Linked DNA regions of Homo sapiens: region 2 is linked to region 1. The links are contacts of gene promoters, found by promoter capture Hi-C in blood cells and fetal thymus (Javierre and others, 2016). All regions are on one chromosome and are shown on one strand. The core of a region is centred on a gene start or on the middle of the fragment in contact, and the rest is flanking DNA. Distances in the headings are between cores, read along the strand shown.

Evidence for each region. The method cuts DNA at HindIII sites, captures the fragments that hold promoters and counts their contacts. A CHiCAGO score of 5 or more calls a contact.
Region 2: a contact is called between a fragment that was not itself captured here and the fragment with the promoter of MIF in region 1, in 2 of 17 cell types (endothelial precursors and megakaryocytes). The highest score is 6.0, in endothelial precursors.

Annotation. Positions count from the first base shown.
Region 1 is chr22:23,891,891-23,895,718 of GRCh38, reverse strand. It overlaps MIF (macrophage migration inhibitory factor), which reads right to left and starts at 1,336. Exons shown (of 3, transcript NM_002415.2): 1 at 1,137-1,336; 2 at 775-947; 3 at 496-679. The coding sequence starts at 1,244. The coding sequence ends at 613. It overlaps MIF-AS1 (MIF antisense RNA 1), which reads left to right. Exons shown (of 3, transcript NR_038911.1): 3 at 187-2,009. RefSeq lists enhancers at 46-853, 854-1,661. The HindIII fragment of the contact is 28,199 bases long and covers 1-3,828 here.
Region 2 is chr22:24,159,246-24,163,291 of GRCh38, reverse strand. All of the region lies in intron 29 of CABIN1 (calcineurin binding protein 1), which reads right to left. Among named protein-coding and RNA genes, the nearest start is that of SUSD2, 20 kb to the left of the region's middle. The HindIII fragment of the contact is 7,010 bases long and covers 1-4,046 here.

The DNA of each region.
Region 1 (3,828 bases), core at 87-2,586:
AGTCACCTAACAAAGTGGATGGCAGTGAGTGGCTCTGGGTGGGATCTTTCTGTCCTCTGGCTACCCTCTGCCCAACAAGAAGGCTGGGGAAGGTGGGGCTGAGAGAAAGGTCTAGGCCTAGAAGACCTCGGACTCCTCCCAACTCCAACTCCTCCTCCCCCTCTTCCGTGGTCGGCTCACCTCCAGCACCCCACGTGGTGGCCCTAGGTACAACGGATTCCGGCGGGCAGAGCGCCTTAGATCCCGAGTCTGCAGCCCAGGGCAGAGTGCCAACTTCTCCTCATCCCTTCGTACGCCATAGAATGGAAAGACACTGGGGCTCCTCTGTTAGGAGCGTAGGAGGGACAGGCTGGACAAAAGGGCTCCCGAACAGCAGGTTCGGAGGAGAGCAACCCGGCCCTGACCCCCGCCCCCAACACCGTTCCCGACCTCGCTCCCCAATATCCCGGCTCTGCACCAATTCCTCCCGCAAGCCAAGGAACCCCGAGGCACTCCTAGTCTCTAAACCGTTTATTTCTCCCCACCAGAAGGTTGGGGTGGGCGGGCCTAGAACACAGCGTGCGGCGGGTTCCCGGGTGGAGCCAGCGCAGACAGCGTGGGTCCCTGCGGCTCTTAGGCGAAGGTGGAGTTGTTCCAGCCCACATTGGCCGCGTTCATGTCGTAATAGTTGATGTAGACCCTGCGGGGGGAGGAGGCCGGACTCAGCGGGTGGCTCAGTCCCGGGCCTGGCCGCGCGCCGCCGCCCCTCCCCCGCCCCTCCGCGACTCCGCGTACCTGTCCGGGCTGATGCGCAGGCGCTCGGCCAGCAGGCCGCACAGCAGCTTGCTGTAGGAGCGGTTCTGCGCGCCGCCGATCTTGCCGATGCTGTGCAGGCTGCAGAGCGCGCACGGCTCGCTGGAGCCGCCGAAGGCCATGAGCTGGTCCGGGACCACGTGCACCGCGATGTACTGCGAGGAAAGGGCGCGGTCAGCCCGCCCCAGCGACCTCGTCGGGCCCCGAACGTCCACTTCGGGCCCGAGCCACCGTCCTCCCCCCGCCCCGCCCCCCAGCTCCGTTCAGGAGTCGCCTCCCCAGCTCCCAGCGCGGAACCCCTCGTCCGGTGGGCACCCCCCTCTTCCTGTCCCCTCCCGGCAAACCTGGGGGGGCTTGCCGGTGGCCTGCGCCAGCTGCTGGGTGAGCTCGGAGAGGAACCCGTCCGGCACGGAGGCGCGGGGCACGTTGGTGTTTACGATGAACATCGGCATGATGGCAGAAGGACCAGGAGACCCGCGCAGAGGCACAGACGCACGCGCCGCGGCCGCCGCTGAGCTACGTGCCTGACTTCTCGGACACCACTGTGGTCCCGCCTTTTGTGACGCCACCGCCGGCGCCAGGCCCCGCCCCCGCGAGGCTGCGGCTCCGCCCCGAGTGGGGAAGTCACCGCCTGCCTCGGCTCGACCCCCGCAGGGCAGGACCCTGGGCGACTCCGCCCGTTCCTCCAGCAACCGCCGCTAAGCCCGGCGCACCGCTCCAACCTGTTCTCCACTTGGCGGCTAGAAATCGGCCTGTTCCGGCCTCGCCTCGGGTCTTTCTTAGTCCTTTCACTAAGTCACCGATGTTAGTCGCCAGGAGGCGCTGTGCCGGGGGTGGGGATGCGGCGGTGAACCCGGAAGATGGCCCCTTACCCTTCCAGAGATGAAGCCCAGTTCATTCCACTGCACGCACTGAGCCCCTGTACCTCCTGTCTTTGGGCCACATGTCCTCAAGGGCTCCAGTCCCGCATGCGTGAGCTTGTGTGTTTGAGATGGGGCGGGGTAGTCATCGCGGCAGGTGAGAGGGGAGCTGCCCCTGCGAATCACCATCCAGGGAACTTCCCTGAACCCCTGCTCTTTAAAGAGGATAGGATGCTGGGAGGCACCGAAGGGAAGGAGGCGAGGTCCAGAGCAGGTTCAGTGGTTCAAACGTGCTCAGCTCCCCTTCTCTGGGCCTCTGGGCAACTTCAGCTCCTCAGGGAAGCCACACCCTAGTCAGGTCCACCGTGTATGGCCTCTCATAGAGCCCTTGGTGAATTTCTTAAATGTCTTTTCCACTAATGGTAAACTCGGGGACCATCTAGCAGGTGCCAGGCATACAAGAGACATTGACTAATACTGCTGAATGAATGAATGAATGAATGGGTGAAAGAAGATAAGCCATGACATAGCAGGAAGAGGACAAGGCAGCAACTGGATCACAGGCCAGGTCCTCAGAGATTTCCAGGGAGGTCCTGTCCTTGGTCTCTGATAGGTGCAATCCATATACCAGTCTCAGTGAAGGCCATGTGATATAGGAAGGACACCCATGCCTGTGGGACCCTCGTGGCACCAGCCAGCCTCCAGCTGGGAGGCCCCATGGCCCATTTATACAAATAGCCTATGGGTATTGGTTCCTGCAGCTGGGCCCCAGACTCTTTCCCTCCTGGTGTCACACCTTCTCTTACCTGTGCCCAGGGCTCCCTAACTGATGGCACTCCATACCATGTCTCCAGCCAGGGGCACTCCCCTAAGTCCCAGGCGCTGACAGCAGCTGACTGAGTGTCCACTGCTCTGTAAAGTCCAAATGTATGACTTGTCCTCCTACACCTCATCACCTGCCAGTAAAATATGCTTCCTTTCACTATCCCTTTATTCCCACTTCTCTCCATTCCCTGAACTACCGCCTAGTCTACACTACCTGCATCCCCTTTGGCCTGGACCACTGTGACTTCCCTATGGTGGACTGCTGCTCCTCAAGGGAGGAGTCTGTTTCCAGCCCCAGGCAGCAGAGTTAGCCCCGACTCCCTGTGCCCTATGAAAGCTGAGCAGAATTACATAAGTCACTCCAGGCAGAAGACTGAAGAGCCAGGGCCTGGTTGACCTGTGCCCTGTGAACCTGAATGACAAGGTGCAGCCTCGCCAGCAAGCACATGAGCTGCCCCTGGAGGTGAGCCCCTGCCAATCTCAGGTTGTTACCATAACAAAGGGTTGCCTTACCTGGCCAGTGACGGAGCAGGAGCATTGCCATCTTGAACAAACACCACCATTCTAAGTTCCCCCTTAATTAAAAGCCGCCTAAATCCAGCCCGAAAATATCAGCCTAATAGCTAATGTCAGCATAACCAGAAACATTCCAACCCTAAGATAAACCCTTCTCTGACCAGAAACATGCCAACCCGGAGACAGCCTCCCTTCTGACCAGAGACATTCCATCCCCGCAATAAACTTTCCCTCACACAGAAACATTCAGAACCTATGATAAGAACCCCCTCCAAAACCCTTAAATATCCTTAGTTTGTAAGAGAGTGTGGCTCTGACCTAACTTGGCCAGAAGCCCCTCTCAAGTTTGTTTTCCAAAATAAACCTGTCCTTGTTGACTGTCGAGCCACCCTTGGTGTTTCTTTCCTCTTTAATTCTTATAGCCAGGACAGCCTCTGAGCCACTTGTCATCTCCTTGTACCCTCCCCAGCTGTTTCCAGTGGCAGTCAGCCTCATCCTTCTAGAAGGGTACCCAAAGAAGTGATATGATTTGCCTCTTACTAGCATGGACATTTGGCTCACTTTCCCCATCTGTAATTTGGGGATGACAATAGTGTTCACCTGACATAGAGGTGTTATGAGCACCAAGTGGCCTAAATGCCAATGACAGTCTCCTCTGATACTAGGGGTAGTACTGTCACAAGGCCCTGGGGTAACCCGGTCCCTGTGAGCCTCCGCCAACCCTCCCTGGTTCTCTGAGTTATGGCGCACTGTCCTTCAGTACCATGGCTCCTGGCTCCAGGGTTGGGGGTTGGTTCTGAAATCCAGTTTGCCCACATTTTCCCTCATCTGACTC
Region 2 (4,046 bases), core at 175-2,674, 270 kb before region 1:
CCAGCCCTGAGCTGTTAAGGCCTGAGAGGAGTTTAAAACTCGCAGCCTTGAGACCCTGTGGCCTCTACACTGGCTCCTGTTGTGACATGGAGGGTCCACCTGCAGGCTGGGGGACTATGTGGAGGCCAGCAGCCACCTTCTACTTCCTGGCAGTGCCTGAAAAGGACAAAACCAGGGTACTGAGGCTATCCACATCCAGGGCAGCAAACATCAATGCTGCATCTTCCTACCATGCAGATGTGGATCCTGAAGCAGCTTATGAAAAGACACCTGCTTTCCAACAGACAGGGTCTATCTACAGTAGGCACCAGAATGGGCAGACACTGTCTCCTGGGTCTCCATCCGCTGTGCTGCAGCAGTACGTCCCGCTGAAGACCCTCCCATCCCTGCACCTCCCAGGGCACATAGACACCAACAGACACACCCGTGAGGACGGGTCTAGTTTGCATCACACACACCAGCACAGTTTGGATCCCTATCTCCTTTCCGTTTCCTTTTGTAACATAACACTGCTGATTTCAGAAAGGATGGAAGACCAAACAAATCAGGCAGTGAGTCCATGGAAAATCAGAAGGGAACCATAGACACCGCCGCCCGCTTGGCCACCCCCATGCTATTGTGACTCTCAAAACTTCCCCAGCCAGCCCTGAGAGGCTTGAAAGGCAGCATTTTACATTTGCATGTGCTCTGGTTTCATTCTGGCATCTTGCTTGGCCTTTTTCTGGTAACAGTGTGCTGAAGGGCACGTTTCCCGGGCAGGGTCAGGCCAGCTAGTGTGCCCTTGTTCATCTCTTTACTGTATCTTCATTCACATGCCCCAGTATGGGGGCTCCTATGTTTATTTACCTTGCACTGGGCACTATTCCCAGAAGCCCCTTCTGTTGTGGGCTTGTCCTTTCCCTGCCCCCAGGATTGGCCCCCTTGCCTGCTCGGCCAGGCCTAAGACCCACCACCAGCCATGGGAATTCAGCCAGCAGATGGGCCCCAGGATCCCAGTCAGGCTTCCCCTCCTAATGAGAGCCTTTAGGAATAACCCCTCTTCTCTGTGGCCTGGGGCGGTGTGCAGATGGACATACCTCCCGAACGGTGAGGGGACTTCCTATGGCCATGAGGCTGGCCTCCAGAGAAAGCTGGTCTGAAGAGTGAAGCCACCAGGCAGAGTCACGAGCCAGCAGGGTGGTAGCAAGCCAACTGGCTTTCTGCCTACACCAGGTGGAGCTGGGCTTCTGTGTTTGCAGCAAGAGACCCATGAGAAGGATGATACTGGCAGCCCCAGGATGACCTGGACACAGCGGTTCCCCACAGAGGGGCAGTAGCCACAGCAGCCCTCTCCCTCCACTGTCCCTCTAACACCGGGCCTGTGGAGGGCTATGAAGCTCCTAGAGAACCAAGGTGCTGAGGAGGGTCTCCTGGAGTGGGACAGGTACAAGGGACAGCCCCTGCTTCACCTGGTTTTCCTCACCACGGCCCACACAGGAGGAAGGGGCATGGCCAGGTTCCAACTGCCACAGCAGAAGCCCCACTGCATTCAGCCCAGGGACTCACGTTCGGGCCTCAGGGAGGGTGTGGAGAATGTGCCAGGGGTGAGCTTGGATAAAGCTAAGTCAGGGCCAGAAAAGAAGGGCATAGGCAGCAGTGACCAAGAGGCCTGGCTGAGGGCAGGTGGAGGGAGCCAGCACCAGGCCAACACCCCCACGGCATCTGAGGGAAAGGCAGAGGCAGGATCATAGATGGGCAGGGGCCATAAGTAGCAGCTGAGAGAAGCAGGGTCGCCGCGAGGAGGGTCTCCTCTGGCCCTCTCCTAGTTCTCCCTCAGCCCTGGGTCCCGCTGCTCTGGCCGTACCCCTTGCCTCGCCTCTCCCAGTTCCACAGGCACACTTGCTGTCTTCAGATTTGCCCCACTTGATTCCTGGGCCCTGGTGTCACCAGGGCTGGGTTCCCTGATGGCCACAGTGGCTGGGATAATGCTTGCTTATAGAGTTGAGGGCAGCTGGGGGTGCACACCAATAGCCTCAGAGGACTTAAAGACACTGAGATTGTGCTTGAGGCTTCCCCTCCATGCCAAGCATCTCTTTCCAGGCATCTCAGTCAATCCCCCAACCCTTCAGAACGGCTCTAGGCTCCTCACTGGCAGATGAGGTCACAGAGAGAGATTTTAACAATCTGAATAATTTATGAAGCCCCAGACTCTAAGCTGAGTGCCTGATACAAGTTACCAAACCCTGCCTACAGCCTTAAGACTTTGGTGGTCTTCCCTCTGCTCTTGAGGAAACAGAGCCTCAAACACTGAGTCCCATGGTAGAGTGAGCCTAGGGGTCCACAGAGGGAGGGCATGACTGCTATGATTTGGGAACCCACGAAGACTTTCCTGGGGGAACTGAGAGCTGGTTAAGTGGAGGTGGTAGGATGCTGCCGGGCCAGCCTGTGCTCTTGCCCTGTCCATTTATGAGGGGGCTGGGAAGCAGGGTGAAGTGCCTGGGGGCAGGAGGGCTGTGCAGTCTTGGCAGGTGGCACCACTTCGAGGTGACAAGTGTCCCTGAAGTTATAGAACACTGCTATTCCCGGCCAACAGGCCAAGGCCATGCCCAGGCCCATGGCTCATGGCTCATGCTGTCTCCAGCACACTGTGGTCTCAGGGGAGCTTACTCCTGGAGGGGCAGGGGCTCTCTTTTCTGCCAGACACAGCCTTTCACTCAGCCAGGGCCAACCCGGGGCTCGACAGCCTGATGCCACAAATTCAAACACTGTTCTGATTCTCATTGTAAACCCCACTGCTGGCTGCTGGGTCACTGCTTGGGCCATTTTTAGTGGCACAGCCCAAGGCTGTTCTGAGGCTCCCTGAGCTGAGGGTTCCCAGCTCTATCTGTCACCTTGGCGGACCCCACCTTTCAGTCATGACTCCTTCTAGAGCTTCCTCCACTTCTAGGGCACAGGCAAAGGCTCTTCAGGAAATCAAGTGCCCCTGGAAATTCCAAGGCAAGAAAGAAGGGTAAGCAAGAGGAGCAGGCCAGTCAGAACAGTACTCAGACCCAAGGCACGAGCTTGTCACAGAGTGGACGAGGGTCAGGTGTGGGCTGAGTAGGGACATAGAGATTCATCCTATGTCTACACTGGGAGGGACAACCTGAGTATGTAATCAACTCACCCCTCATTTTCCAGAGAGGGAAACTGAGTTCAGGTGACCTGCCAAGGCTGCCTAGTGATGCAAAGTGGGACAGGACCCAGGGGCCAGACTCGCCCACCTCAAGTCTCTTCCTACACCCCTGCTTAACACTCAGAGGAACAAGAAATTGGCAGCCTCCCTGTTTTACAGATGTAGAAATGGAAGCATGGAGAATGCAGTGATGCCAGTTCACCTCGGTTTTGAAAAGGTGCCTCTTAAGACTTGCAAAGGCCCATTGCAGGGGCAGGCTGCCACTGGAATGCCTGCCTGTGGACGGGGTGGCTGGCAGGTGGCCAGTGTCTTCCACCAGCACCATGGGTGCCTCAGGGTGTCATAATTAAGTCCCTTGGGCAATGTTGCAGGAAATGGCCTCTAAGCAAGCTCTCTGCTGGCCTTTTCCAGCTGTCCCCTGCTGCCACACCCACAGGATTCAGATGCAACCCCCTGCCCCATTCTGTCATTCCCAGGGCCATGCCCAGCTGGGATGCCACGTGAGGCTCAAGCAAGAGGGCAGAAGAGGGAGGAACCATACTTGGGAGTAGACAGAATGGCTGTGAAGGAGCTGCCTGGGCGCTGCACAGGGGTGCTGAGGAAGGAACAGGCCATGAGGTGCCAGGAGCCACCTGGGAGACCCAGGGCACCTGGCCTGACAAGGGAGCAAGCAGGCAGCTGGGCAGGTGGTCATCTACTTCACACAGCAGTCTCTTTCCTCTCCAGCTCACCCAGGTTGTCCAATCCAAACTAGCCTGAGTCTGCTAGGGGCCTTCTTGGGCTTGGCCCGGCCTGGTCAGGCACTGCCTGCAGGGTTGCCCCCAGCTTCTGACGTCAGCAGCCAGTTTCAAGGGCCTGAGTCTTGAACGGGAATAGCTGCCCTGCCACAGTC